5 separate regions of the Homo sapiens genome follow, and regions 1, 2, 3 and 5 are each linked to region 4. Evidence: promoter capture Hi-C in 16 types of primary human blood cells and fetal thymus (Javierre and others, 2016). All regions are on one chromosome and are shown on one strand. The core of a region is centred on a gene start or on the middle of the fragment in contact, and the rest is flanking DNA. Distances in the headings are between cores, read along the strand shown.

Region 1 (2,700 bases), core at 98-2,597, 180 kb after region 4:
TGGAAATTAAAGATGGTTACAAATTCTTTGCCATCCATCCTGTCAAGAAGTGAAGGCTATTTCCTCTACCTTGAATCTAGGCTGGCTTTTTGAATACTTCGACCAACAGAAAGCATCGATAGTAACTCTTTACCACTTTGGGGTGTAAACAAGCCTCAAAATGGCCTGGCGACTCTCACCTTTGCATTCTCGTAAGCCAGTCACCATGCTGTAAAGACTGTAAAAGACTGCTAACGCTGAGAGGACTGGGGAGAGAGGCCTGGATTATGAGGGGTCATTTTGTACATTTCAGCCTCAGCTGAATGCTATTGCAGAGGTCTTGCCCACCTCATTTGGAAAAGAGAGCCATCTAGTTGAACCTAGTCCAAGCTTGTCCAACGTGGGCCACATGTGGCCCAGGACAGCTTTGAATGTGGCCCAACACAAATTAGTGAACTTTCTTAAAATATTATGAGATTTTTTGCAATCTTTTTTTCCGTTTTTTTTGATATGGAGTCCCACTCTGTCGCTCAGGCTGGAGTGCAGTGGTGTGATCTTGGCTCACTGCAGCCTCCACCTCCCAGGTTCAAGGGATTTTCCGGCCTTAGCCTCCCGAGTAGCTTGGATTACAGGCACCCGCCATGATGCTCGGCTAATTTTTGTATTTTTAGTAGAGATGGGGTTTCGCCGTGTTGGCTAGGCTGGTCTTGAACTCCTGACTTCAAGTGATCTGCCTGCCTCGGCCTCCCAAAGTGCTGGGATTACAGGCCAGCGAGCCACCATGCCAGGCCAATTTTTTTTTTCTTTACCTCATCAGCTATCGCTAGTGTTGGTGTATTTTACGTGTGGCCCAAGACAATTCTTGCAATGTGGCCCAGGGAAGCCAAAGATTGGACACCCTTGACCTAGTCAATAAAAAATAAATTATTGCTGTTTTAAACGACTACATTTTGGAGTGGTTTGCTATGTAGCAATAGAGAATTAAGACAACCATTATGTTTTATATTACATATGTGTTATGTCATCGTTCTACATGTAAGAACTGTAACAGAAAAAAAAATTAGGCAAAGTTCTACGTTTTCTCTGGATTTATCAATTATTGGCTAAAATGCAAGGGTGCATTTCTAGAGGGTGTTTTATTTCAATAACTACTGTTACTTTCCCTCCTATATACTTCAACACTTTGAAAAGTTAATTTACTTTTCTTTAGTTGTTCTGAGGAATGGGAGCAAATATATTAGCACCAATATGATGTTTGTATACTAAAATACTGACATGAAATTTTTATCAAACCAGCATATATTATCTTTTTTTTTTTTAAAGCAAGCCCAATTCTAACTTATAAATAGGATAACTCAATATTGTTAGTACAATTAATAATGTTTTAGCTGGCTGTTAAACGACTGACATTCCATTTTAGAGTCTGAGTAAGTGAAACTGGGTGTCCTAAATTTCTATTTTAATAATTCCTTATTATTCTTATTTTTTTTGAGACAGGGTCTTATTCTGTCACCCAGGTTGGAGTGTAGTGATGCGAACACAGCTTACTATAGCCTCTACCTCCTGGGCTCAAGTGATCCTCCTGTCTCAGCCTCCCAGTAGCGGGACCACAGACATGCACAGCCATGCTTGGCTAATTTTTTTATTTCTTGTAGAGACAGGGTCTTGCCATGTTGCCCAGGCTGGTCTTGAACTACTAGGCTCAATTCATTGTCCCACCTCACTGTGATTATAGGTGTGAGCCACTGGGCAAAGCCAATTCCTTATTATTTTTACTGAATTTATCTCATTCTGTACTGTTTTACTATGTTAATTCTTGTGGGGATGAAGGCTATCTTGCAATTCCTCTACCTGGAATGTTACTCTTCTCCCCTCTCCATTTCCTTAAATCCTCCTTATCTTAAATACACACTGCCTTGCATTAACTTTTTGTGCTATAAAATCCAGCCATGGCTTAATAGCTAACCACCTTTTTTGTTTAACTACTCTTATTTTTAAACTGGTTGCTGTCCTGAAACACTCTCAGTGAAGTACAAACATACTTGCTTCTCAGATTGTAAGAGAAAGAAATGACTTTGGCTGTTGCCTGAGTCTACTTCTTAAGAACACCATGCATCACTGATTGGGAGCTCACAGGATAACGGCAGATAGAGAGTTTCTGCATGATGGTGTGTTCCCATTTGCTTGGAACCTACGAGCAACATGTGAAAGTATGCAGTTCCTAAGTTCTTTGCATGTCAAGTACAAGCTATCCAAGCATCCACTCTTCTTTCAAAGGACGCTAAATGCAAAACACAGCTGTCTGTGACCTTGGGAGACCTAACCGGAATCTGCAAACAAGCTTATGTAAGCGTACCCTGGCCAGCCTTGTTCCGAAAGCCCTCTCTAATTAAATGAGAGTTTTGATTTCTTATGTGGAACAGTAAAGGGTCTTCTGGGAAGAGACATCTCTTGCAGGAACTGTAATTTGAAAAGTAATTTTTGTCTCTATTGCATCCTTAACTACACAGGACATAATAGTGGGCAAGAAATGATAGCAGAGCTGTAAATACTGAGTAAGTCTGACTAATTCCCAGGCTGCACAAAAGATCTTATTAAACAACTTTATTAATGACCTGGAAATCTGAGAAGACGTTACATTAATAAGTTCCTCACATGGCACTAAAGGTGGAGATGGTAGAAGAAACAGAGGTGAAGTCAAACAATATTCATGGATCCCTG
Region 2 (2,703 bases), core at 163-2,662, 240 kb after region 4:
AAGGGCTTCCCTCTATTTTTATTTAAAATTTTAAAAATCCCTATGTAAATTTTATAATGTGTGTTGGTTACAAGCTACTGCAAATGCTTTATGGAAAAAGGAAATGGGTATAACTATGTCTGTCTTGGTGCCCCCCTCATATCTCTCTCTCTCTCTCTCTCTCTCTCTCTCTCTCACACACACACACACACACACACACACACACACACACACACACACAATGGGATCTAGCATCCAAGCTATTCTAAGAACAGTTTCATAAAGTATCAGCTATTCTTCCTTTAACCAGCAAATCACTGTTCTATTGAATTATAATCTATTCTTTAATCATTTAGGGGATATCTAAAGCACCTAGAAGTTCCTAGAATGCAAGTTAAGGGTAGGCTGAGGAAGGGGAGGTTCCCTTTACAAAGCTTTCACTGGCATCTGAATTTAGATCTTTTGAGATTTTAAAAATATAAGCAACCAAGACACTTGATTTAAAATTCACTGATTTGTTCAAAGTAGTGCTCTATGGAGGGCCAGTGATCTTCTAAAATGGGGTCACAGTACAGACTTTGCTTCAAATTCAAGAGCTCACGATAGCTCCTTTCTTGACTCTGTTCTTTCTGGCACTCAGATTTTTGAAGTAAAACAAAACATTACAGGAATTTTCTCTACAAGGAGACTTCTGAAATTCCGGGAAGGGTTCCTCCTCTCCCAAAGTGTCTTGCTTAATGCTGTGCATCATAAGCTTATTTCTTGAAATAAAAATGCTGAGATGCTGAACTTGGAAGGCAGCAATAAACCAAGGGGGATAAAGTTGAGGGCACAAAAACCTGAGCCTCACTTTTTAACAACTCCAAAGAAGAATGAACTTATTATATATAAGGAGAGCTCTATAGGGTGTCACTAGAAATTCAGCTACTTCCAATGGTTTTGCTTGCATGCCTGGAAAAGCAGTGACACTGGCACAAGTGTGTTCTATGTGAGAGCAGTAAGCTGGGGAATTTTGCGTCAGGATTTGAGGTCTTAGGCAATTGACCGGCCTTGAAAAGTACAGCACACTGGCACTAAGAAAATGCAAAATTAGGCTAGGCGTGGTGGCTCACGCCTGTAATCCTAGCACTTTGCGAGGCCAAGGCGGGCAGATCACAAGGTCAAGAGATCAGGACCATCTGGCCAACATGGTGAAACCCTGTCCCTACTAAAAATACAAAAATTAGCTGGGCATGATGGCGCATGCCTGTAGTCCCAGCTACTTGGGAGACTAAGGCAGGAGAATCACTTGAACCTGGGAGGCAGAGGTTGCAGTGAGCTGAGATCGTGCCACTGTACTCCAAACCTGGCAACAGAGCAAGACTCTGTCTCAAAAAAAAAAAAAAAAAAAAAAAAAGCTAATTATTCATTACTTTCTAAAAAATAGTTCTTAGTAAGTTAATAGTAACATGTATACTCGCTTTGCAATTTTTAAATGAAATCACTAAAAATAAACACTTTTTAAGAACTTTAAGACTATTTTAAAAATGTTATCAATTATTATTCATTTTCAATCTGCTGCTATTCCTTTTAGCTTATGGCAAAAGATATAACCCAATTGCAGTCCTCAAAACAGAATGGCCAAAGCAATGCTAAGTCTCGCAAGCCCTACCTGAGGCCTTCAAAACGATTAGAGCCTAAATGAATCAATTCTGTCTAGGCTGACAGCATGTATTTTCTTTTGGAAGTTCAGTGACTACAGAGGGAATATTTTGGCTTTCTAGTGCAAACATGTACAGATTTTGAACTTGGGGAACTTGCAACTTCTGGTTGTAAAGTTGTCTTCTACTAAGAAACCATGGCACCAAGTCCTAAATGCGAGAATACAGCTTTTAGAAAATCTGCAAATGATTTATTTGCAGAATAGTGAAGTAAATTGCAAAGAATTATGTGAAACAGAAAGAGGGTGTGGGAGCAATAAAATAAATGAAGATACAAGGCTTTTAAAAGGTTACATGGGGAAATGAAGACATTAAATGCCACTTAATTTTAGAAAATAAAATTACAAGGTATATGATATGCTAGCAAAGTTCTGGATTATAGTAAGGCTTTCCAGGGAACAAGAAAGCTTGTATGGCTACTACCCAGGGTAATTACTGAATCAGTGATATTACTCAGAAAATAAAATTGCACATAATACACACAGAGCTTTTAAGCCAGTTTCCTTGTGCCACATTCCCCCCTGCCCTCAATCTCATTCTAGCCACTTCCTTTAAGTGAAAAAAAGAGTCACTGTAGCTTTCTGGAATTCTCTTCCATACATGCCAAGTACATTAAAAAAATGAAAATAAGTCATGAAGTTGGATGACAATATGATGAAAAATTATCTTACTCCTTAATTTTGCTGTAATAGTTTGAAAGATGATAGTTCTGTAGAATGTGAATCGCAGTCTTACACAAACATACATCAGCATACATTCATACTGTTTAAAAAGAGAAGAGTTTTACATAGAAAAGGAATGGAAAGACAGTCAACAGCAATAGTCAAGATATCTAGAAATAATTTTAGAGGAAAAAAGTATCTACTACTGTCTTTAAATACATTAAAATAGAACAATTTTACGTATTTACTTTTCTCTTTTAAAAAATTACTTTAAAAATCTTTTTAGAAATTAAATCACTAAAAATAAATTTTTAAAGAACTTTAAGATTATTTTTTAAATGTCATCACTTATTATTAATTTT
Region 3 (2,805 bases), core at 30-2,529, 160 kb after region 4:
ACACAGTGCTTGTTTCTTTACTTCTCGTTACCTCCTTCTACTGAAGCTTATCATCACCAATACAGGTACCGTGTAGTTTGTTTTTTTACCTGTCATAAAATGTGAATCTGCTAACTGGTGAGGGAATCACAGGGAGGCTTTCAGCTGGCTGTGCTGCAAGCAGTACAGACTCCAGTGGGTTGGCAATAACAAATTACAGCACAGCCAAGAGTCAAAGTAGTCCCTGACCTATGATCTTGTTGCTATTCTTGTTTTACTAGATTTTTCAAATAGCAATGTGGCACGTACCATTACTATGCCTAGCTAAACATTAAAAATCACTATTACCTTGTCAGATATGCTACCGTTGATGAAATTTTAAAAAACCAACAAAATAAATGATAAGAGTTTCTACTGAGTAAAAATATAACACAAAGCTATTCAGAAAAAGTGCAACAAAGCCATTGCAACTTAGAAGGTAGCAAGTATCCAGCTGAGTATTTTGTTGAAATGGAGGCCTAATCCTGGGCTAGGAAAAATTTAATAACCAAGTAGTCTTTGTGATATTTGCCAAATAACGAAGAATATTCAAATCCAGAACTAATTATTAGAGTCTATTAATGGTGCTGAAAATAACCTAATAGTTTAGAAAATATTCATGACGTACATGTTCACAAATACATGGCTTTAAAAACAGAGTGCAATCTCACTTTTAGATGTAAATCCAACAAAACATGTATATATATAGGCTTGTATACTGAAAACTACAAAATGCTCATGAAAGACATCAAATATCTAAAAATAGAGAGATATACTGTGTTCGTGGATTAGAATACCGGGTTGTCCCTCCATATCCACAGAAGATTGGTTCCAGGACTCCCTTCAGATACCAAAATCTGAGGATGTTCAAGTCAGTGATATAAAATAGCACAGTATTTGCATATAATCCATGCAGATCCTCCTGTAGCCTTTAAAAAATGTCTAGATTACTTACAATATCTAATACAACAGTGGTTCCCAACCTTTTAGGCACCAGGGACTGGTTTTGTGGAAGACAATTTTTCCACGGATGGGATGGTTGGTGGTTTGGGGATGAAACTGTTCATCTCAGGGCAACTGGAATTAGTCTTTCTCATAAGGAGCATGTAACCTAGATCTCTCGCATGTGCAGTTCTGTAGTTCACAATAGGGTTTGTGCTCCTATGAGAATCTAATGCTGCTGATCTCACAGGAAGTGGAGTAATGACAGTAATGCTGGCTTGCCTGCTGCTCACCTCCTGCTTTGTGGCCTGGTTCCTAACAGGCCACAGAGTGGTATGATCTGTGGCCCAGGGTGTAATGCAATATAAATGCTATGTAAATAGTTGTTATACTGTATTGGCTTTCATTTAAAATTTTTTTATTTTTAATTTTTGTGGGTACATAGTAGGTGTATATATTTATGGGGTATATGAGATATTTTGATACAGGAAAGCAATGTATAATAATCACATCATGGGAAATAAGGTATCCATTCCCTCACACATTTATCCTTTGTGTTACAAACAATCCAATTATACTCTTTCAGTTATTTTAAAATGTACAATTAAATTAATTTGACTGTAGTCACTCTGTTGTGCTATCAAATACCTGGTGTTATTCATTCTTTCTTTTTTTTTTTTGTACTCCTTAACTAACCCCATCTCCTCCCCACCCCCTACTACTCTTCCCAGACTCTGGTAACCATCCCTCTACTCTCCATCAACATGTGTTCAATTATTTTGATTTCTACATCCTACAAATAAGTCAGAACATGTGATGTTTGTCTTTTTGTGCGTGGCTTATTTCACTTAACATAATGACCTCCAGTTCCATCCATGTTGTTGTAAATGACAGGATCTCATTATCTTTTATGGCTGAATAGTATCCATTGTGTTTAAGTACCACATTTTCTTTATCCATTCATCTGTTGATGGACACTTAGGTTGCTTCCAAATCTTGGCTATTGTGAACAGTGCTGCAATGAACATGGGAGTGTAGATCTCTCTTTGCTATACTGATTTCATTTCTTTGGGGTATGTACCTAGTAGTGGGATTGCTGGATCATATGGTAGCTCTAGTTTTAGTTTTCTGAGGAACCTCCAAACTGTTGTCCACAGTGGTTGTACCAATTTTCATTCCCACCAACAGTGTATGAGAGTTCCCTTTTCTCCACATCCTTTCCAGCCTGTGTTTTGGATAAAAGTCATTTTAACTGGGGTAAGATAATATCTCATTACAGTTTTGATGTGCAGTTTTCTGATGATCAATGATTTTGAGCACCTTTTCATATGCCTGTTTGTCATCTGTATGTCTTCGTTTGAGAAATGTCTATTCAAATCTTATGCCTATTTTTTAAATTGGATTATTCATTTTTTTCTTATGTAGTTGTTTGAGCTCCTTATATACTGCAGTTATTAATCTCTTGTCAGATGGGTAGTTTGCAAATATTTTCTCCCGTTCTGTGGGTTTCTCTTCACTTTGTTGATTGTTTCCTTTGCTGGGCAGAAGCTTTTTAAGTTGATGTGATCCCATTTGTCCATTTTTGCTTTGGTTGCCTGTGCTGGTGGGGTATTGTTCAATAAATTTTTACCCAGACCAATGTCTTGAAAAGTTTCTCCAATGTTTTCCTGTTTCAGTTTCAAAGTCTGAAGTCTTATATATTTAAGTCTTTAATTCATTTTGGTTTAATTTTTGTATTAGGCAAGAGATAGGGGTCAAGTTTCATTCTTCTGCACATAAATGTCCAGTTTTCCTAGCACCATTTATTGGAGAGACTGTCTTTTCTCCAATGCATGTTCTCGGTAT
Region 4 (2,700 bases), core at 114-2,613:
TATTCTTCAAAGCCTAGTTGAAACACTGCTGCTTTCATGAAGCTTTCCCCCAGTGACTCCAACTGCCCCAGCCCCCACCGCCAACCTCTCGTAACACTTTGAATCACACTCACAAAGAATAAGATTAATTTTACCTTGTTACACCTTCCCAACTCCAACATAAGCAAGTTGAAGAAAAAAAAACTATATCTAGATCACCATGAAGTTTTCCTCTGACACCTTGGAGAGCCCAGCGCTACGGTAATGTTTGATGTCTGCTAATGGAGAGCTGAATTTCTTAATTACTAATTATCTATCCCTTTCAACGATTTCCATTTTTTTCCTCTGGGATTAAAGTCGATGTCTATCAATGTCCTGTATTATTTTTAAAGTGCCCATGAGCTGTACACATACAATATAACGAACAAGCAAATCCAAAACTAATACATGTGGTCAATACACTTAGATCAACTGTAAAATTTAGACAAGCCTCTAAAGGTCCCTTTTTAAAAAATGATGTTGTACAACCTAACAGTGTATCGTGAGATCAACTATTTCAAAAGTAGAAGCCTTTCCCAAAGATTAACACTGGGTGAGCAGTTTACCAAAAAATTATTGGCGGTCTTCCCCCACAATCCCGAGTATAAATCAGGTAAGCATGCAACAGCTTGGGTGCAGTAAGAGCAAAGTCCCACACTGCATCCAAAGCTCAGAAATCGAGCTGTGAGAAATGTGGTAGTAGGGGAAAAGATGACTTGCGTGAAGGAGACGAACGATGAAAACTGTTGGAATGCAAAACGAGATAACAGCCAGAATAAAAAAAAGTATACCAACTAAGTGGGAGGGATTCTCCTCGGGTCAACCTCTGAACCCTCAGGCGAAGGTCGCAGTGGTCATTTCAAAACGTCTTTTCTTCACATTGTATTTTAGTGACTCAGATCTGCATCCAACAAACTTCCTTCTTCAGCCTACTCCAACTCCCACAGCCAGGACTCCGGCCAAACCCAGCCCTGAAGCCACCCACTCCAGCACACTTTGGAGACTGACAGACGACACAGGAGGACCGTTCTGAGGCCCAGCACCTGGATGACACCCCTCTCCTTGGGAGTCCCGCCCCAGTCCCTTGGGCAGAACCAGGCAGGCAGGGGGCACCCAGCTGGCAGAGGGGTAGGGCAGGGCACCGGACTTCGCCTAGGACCGGCCTCTCCGTTCCATGCCGACGCCAGACGGCTCCTCGGGGACCGGCAAGATGGTGAGAAGGAAGAATAAAGGGGCATTGGAAATTAGCCCCGGCTTTCACTCACCAGCCGTCGCCGCTCGACGTTGGCAGCGGCGGCACATCTTCTCCTTCCGCCATTGCTGTTGACGTCCACGTCACTTTGCCGAAAAGTGGATCCGGCGCTGAGACCAACTCCGAGACTCAATGTCGTAAAAGGTCTTCGGAAGTCCAGCACTGAGCTTCCCCAGAGGGGAAGAAAGAGGGAGGTGGCAAGGGACTGGAGGAACGCAACGTCACGGCGTCCCGAGGCCGAAAGGCAGCGTCTTGGGGGAGGAGACTTGGTGGAGGCAGCTGCCCCTCCAAAGACTACATGTCCCAAGATGCCACGGTGCCGCGGGCGGGGCGGGGCGCGGTGGACGCCGTCCCAGTTGGAGGCCTTGTGTGACAAACAGCGTGTCTTTTTAGCGTCCACTTAGCGTCTTCATTCCAGCTTGGCGTCGAAATTAACAAAGTTAGAATTTACAGTCCTAACTATTGGAGAAAGCAAGGGAAATGGGAATTGACATAGGGAAGGCGGACGTAGGAGAAGAGCCACAGTTCAGTAATTTCCTGCTGTAGCAATTTAATTTGAAGAAAGAGTGGGACGTAAGGAAAGGGGCAGACCACCCCTATTTGTGAGGCCCCGTCAAAAGTGTAAATGAAGGCCCACATACTTTTTGACTGAATATTTAAAAGTTGTAAATGAAGCTATATACTAAAGGAGATACGTTCTAGCCTCCTACCTTAAATATATCTTCCTAACAGTCTGGAAGATCAAGTCCGAATTTAGAATTCTAGGACTGGAATTCCAGGCAAGCAGAGCTGCCAAAATCCTTCTCTACGCGTTCCACTTCCCCTTTACACCGCATGGGCGGACACTTGGCCACCGCCGGGGCCTTGGGGTGAGCACACGCTCAGGAGGATGGACCTAAAGAAACGCTTTTGCAAGCCCTGAAAACAACAGTGATGAAGTAGAACTGCATGTAACAATATGGATACATCTGAAAAATACGCTGTTAAATGAGCAAAACAGATTGCAGACGGATAGGTAAAGTATGGTATCATTTATAGTTGGTGTTTAAAAGACAATATATTTAAAATAGATCCATATGAGTTTAAAATGCAGGAGAATGATATATAGAAAACTCGGAATGGCAGTTACATTCAGGGAAAGGGAGGAGTTTCCATGAATTTTTAAATATTTATTAAGGGCCCCAAGGTGGCCACATAGGTGGCCAGTGTTCTTTATAGAGTCTATACTTAGGTATCTAAAATGTTTCATAGTTTCAAAAACTATTTGTTTTAAATAGATACAAAACAGTACAGCTATCTCATTTACAACCAAAAACATGTTCACTCTCTTCCCTAAAGGGAAATAATACAGATCTGCATGGTACTGCACCCACTTCCAAGGCCCGGATCTCTGTAATGTTCAGTTCTCTGTTAGGGAACATTTCTTTTAA
Region 5 (2,700 bases), core at 50-2,549, 200 kb after region 4:
GGCAGGAGAATGGCCTGAACCCGGGAGGCGGAGCTTGCAGTGAGCCAAGATCGCGCCACTGCACTCCAGCCTGGGGGACAGAGCAACACTCCGTCTCAAAAAAAAAAAAAAAAAAAAAAAAAAAAAAAAAAAAGAAGAAGACAGGATAACCACAAGTGGATATTTCCAGATCTCTAAGTATTACTAGGGAAGTAATATAGAGTAGTAAAGGCTTTCAATTTGGGAAGATGAAAAAGTTTGTGGAGATGGGTAGTAGTCTTGGTTGCATAACAATGTGAATGTTCTTAATGCTATTAAACTGCACAGTTAGCAATAGTTAAAATGACAGATTTTGTATTATATATATTTTACCACAATAAATGAATAAATGAAAAAAGTGAAGTCTCTGGAATCAGTCTTCTTGGCTTCAAATCTTGCCTCTGATATTTCCTAGCTGTGAGTCCTTGGGTATTGCATTACCTTCTCTGTGCTTCAGTTTTCTCACCTCAGAATGGGAGGATAACGACATGCACCTCGGAGGTAGTGAGGGTTAAATGAATTAAATGAATTCATATGTGTAAAGCACTTAGCACCTAGAATGCAATAAAAGTCCAAGAAATGCTAGTGGTTGTTAATGGTGTTGTAATTATTAGTACTGCTCTTATTATGAGGTAAAGCAATTTTTTAAAAAAGTTCCATCTTCTTTCTCTTCTTCTTTTCATTCTCTGCAGGAGGTATTAATAAGAAATAAAATAGTGAAAATGTGGGTAGGAGGAGAAAGAAAGTAAAACAAGGGCCTGGGAAAATTAACACCCTGGAATAACCAAGAATTGCCTACATCAGCCAAACATTTAAGTTTTAATCTCTAAGCAAAACTGTGCAGGGTCCTCAACCACCTGTGAAGATTTTCGAATGTCATGTGCTTGGCCCCAACTTGGACTCACCCCATCTGGCTGTCCAGAGATAAGGAGCCTCTCATTACACAAACATACTCAGTGTGTACAGAGGGATCACTTGTTTTTGGTATTTTAGGTTTATTTAGAAGAAGTATAGTTTTTAAAATCTAAAAATTGTACCCTTCCTTCCTTTTAAAATTTTTTTTTTTTTTAAATTTTAACAGTGCCTTTCTGCCTTGATTAGAAGTAAAGGTCAACTTCTATGTGCACATCTATTGGCCACTTAAGAGAGAAAGCCCTGCTAATAAATCTTGGGGCAAAGGGTGTGGTTTCTTGTGTGTGGCTATTGCTATGCTGCAACTCATCACCTCGTGCGGTTAATGAGGATGTGGTTCTGCAACTTGCACTTCCATTTCAAAGCCATGCAGGCCATTGATAGATCTGTATGGCTCAAAGAGATGCCCTATTTGTTTTTTATTTTTATTTTTTCGAGACAAGATCTGGCTCTATTGCCCAGGATGGAGTGCAGTGGTGTGTGATCTTGGCTTAGTGCAACCTCCGCCTCCCACGCTCGTTATCCTCCCACCTCAGCTTCCAGAGTAGCTGGGACTACAGGCACACACCCTGTGCCTGGCTAAATCTTGTGTTTTTCTATTTTTTGTGGAGATGGGGTTTCACTATATTGCCCAGGCTGGTCTCAAATTTGTGAGCTCAAGGTATCTGTCTGCTTCAGCCTCCCAAAGTGCTGGGATTACAGGTGTGAGCCACTGCGCCGAGCCCCTATTTGTTTCTTAAGTGGTGGTTTTTACTCAGTGAGAGGTGGTAGCTAAGCATTTTTATGTATTTTTTTTTTCTTGGGTGAAGATGCTATTCTAATGTGCTCTGATTTCATTTTCTTGTTTTCGTTTAGGGCATTGGCATACTTTAAAGCTACCTTGCTAGGCCAAGGAGCTGCCTTCTCTTAGAAGGGCATCAGGAAGATGGTTTTTGGATGTGGTATAAAGGGATGGAAGAGGAGGTGGAGTGGGAAACAGTTAAAGTACTAAGGCAAGAGTCTCCTCATGGTTTCTCCTTGCATGGTACTTCACTCCTTTACCTCCCAGTAGATTTTATTTTCTAAAATAGTAGATCAAAAAAATCTTTAGGGGCTCCTCATGACATAGAAAGTAAATCTCAACCTCTTCAGTCTGGCACCGTAGCCCACCCACCATGTGACACACACCTCCAGTTTCCTCAAATCCCTTTACCATACCCGGCACAGCTGAGGGCACATGTACCTGGAGCCCATCTTCCCCCCGCCCCCATTTCCCCAACCGTCCTCCTCCAGCAGGAAAACTGCCTGTGCCACCCCTAGTCATATGGGTCACATTTTAAATTAATCATTTCATACATATGTGATTTACCTCACTAACGAGGCCAGAACTCCCCAGACTGGAGGCTCATAGGTTGAATCCAGTCCACATGCATGTTTTGTTTGGCCTACATGATGTTTTTGAAGAATATGAATTAGTTGCCAGAGTTTTTTAAAAATCAGGAGATGATACATACACACAGAAATCTGGATTTCTGATTTCTCTTGACAAACTGGAAGCTCTGACAATTCTAGGCCGGCACATATGGATGGTTCCAGTCAGCTGGAGTTGTGTAATGACTGACTTCTTCAGGCATGATGGGTCCTTTTCATTACAGTACAGTCCCAGTCACTACTCTGTCCTGCACTTGGCCCCCGCCTTCTGGCTCACAAACCTTCCTGGCTCCTAACGCTGTTTGAATCTTCAACCTCTGAACTACACCCTCTACCCTTGGAGGATAGAAACTTTGTCTT

Evidence for each region. Contacts are between HindIII fragments. The CHiCAGO score rates a contact against its expected background, and 5 or more counts as called.
Region 1: a fragment that was not itself captured here is called in contact with the fragment with the promoter of TBC1D23 in region 4 in 13 of 17 cell types (neutrophils, non-activated CD4 T cells, activated CD4 T cells and 10 more); the score reaches 9.5 in neutrophils.
Region 2: a contact is called between a fragment that was not itself captured here and the fragment with the promoter of TBC1D23 in region 4, in 3 of 17 cell types (megakaryocytes, erythroblasts and M1 macrophages). The highest score is 6.9, in megakaryocytes.
Region 3: a contact is called between a fragment that was not itself captured here and the fragment with the promoter of TBC1D23 in region 4, in 1 of 17 cell types (neutrophils). The highest score is 5.5, in neutrophils.
Region 5: a fragment that was not itself captured here is called in contact with the fragment with the promoter of TBC1D23 in region 4 in 15 of 17 cell types (erythroblasts, megakaryocytes, endothelial precursors and 12 more); the score reaches 11.8 in erythroblasts.

Annotation. Positions count from the first base shown.
Region 1 is chr3:100,076,677-100,079,376 of GRCh38, reverse strand. All of the region lies in intron 1 of CMSS1 (cms1 ribosomal small subunit homolog), which reads right to left. The region is part of intron 1 of FILIP1L (filamin A interacting protein 1 like); the gene reads left to right. Among named protein-coding and RNA genes, the nearest start is that of FILIP1L, 36 kb to the left of the region's middle. The HindIII fragment of the contact is 1,951 bases long and covers 372-2,322 here.
Region 2 is chr3:100,019,433-100,022,135 of GRCh38, reverse strand. The region is part of intron 1 of CMSS1 (cms1 ribosomal small subunit homolog); the gene reads right to left. All of the region lies in intron 1 of FILIP1L (filamin A interacting protein 1 like), which reads left to right. The region is part of intron 2 of LOC105374010 (a long non-coding RNA gene); the gene reads right to left. Among named protein-coding and RNA genes, the nearest start is that of MIR3921, 56 kb to the right of the region's middle. The HindIII fragment of the contact is 1,353 bases long and covers 736-2,088 here.
Region 3 is chr3:100,095,496-100,098,300 of GRCh38, reverse strand. The region is part of intron 1 of CMSS1 (cms1 ribosomal small subunit homolog); the gene reads right to left. All of the region lies in intron 1 of FILIP1L (filamin A interacting protein 1 like), which reads left to right. Among named protein-coding and RNA genes, the nearest start is that of FILIP1L, 18 kb to the left of the region's middle. The HindIII fragment of the contact is 2,462 bases long and covers 49-2,510 here.
Region 4 is chr3:100,259,655-100,262,354 of GRCh38, reverse strand. It overlaps TBC1D23 (TBC1 domain family member 23), which reads right to left and starts at 1,363. Exons shown (of 19, transcript NM_001199198.3): 1 at 1,284-1,363. The coding sequence starts at 1,336. RefSeq lists enhancers at 622-1,290, 1,066-1,555, 1,291-1,959. The HindIII fragment of the contact is 5,201 bases long and covers 45-2,700 here.
Region 5 is chr3:100,059,527-100,062,226 of GRCh38, reverse strand. All of the region lies in intron 1 of CMSS1 (cms1 ribosomal small subunit homolog), which reads right to left. The region is part of intron 1 of FILIP1L (filamin A interacting protein 1 like); the gene reads left to right. Among named protein-coding and RNA genes, the nearest start is that of FILIP1L, 54 kb to the left of the region's middle. The HindIII fragment of the contact is 3,666 bases long and covers 1-2,700 here.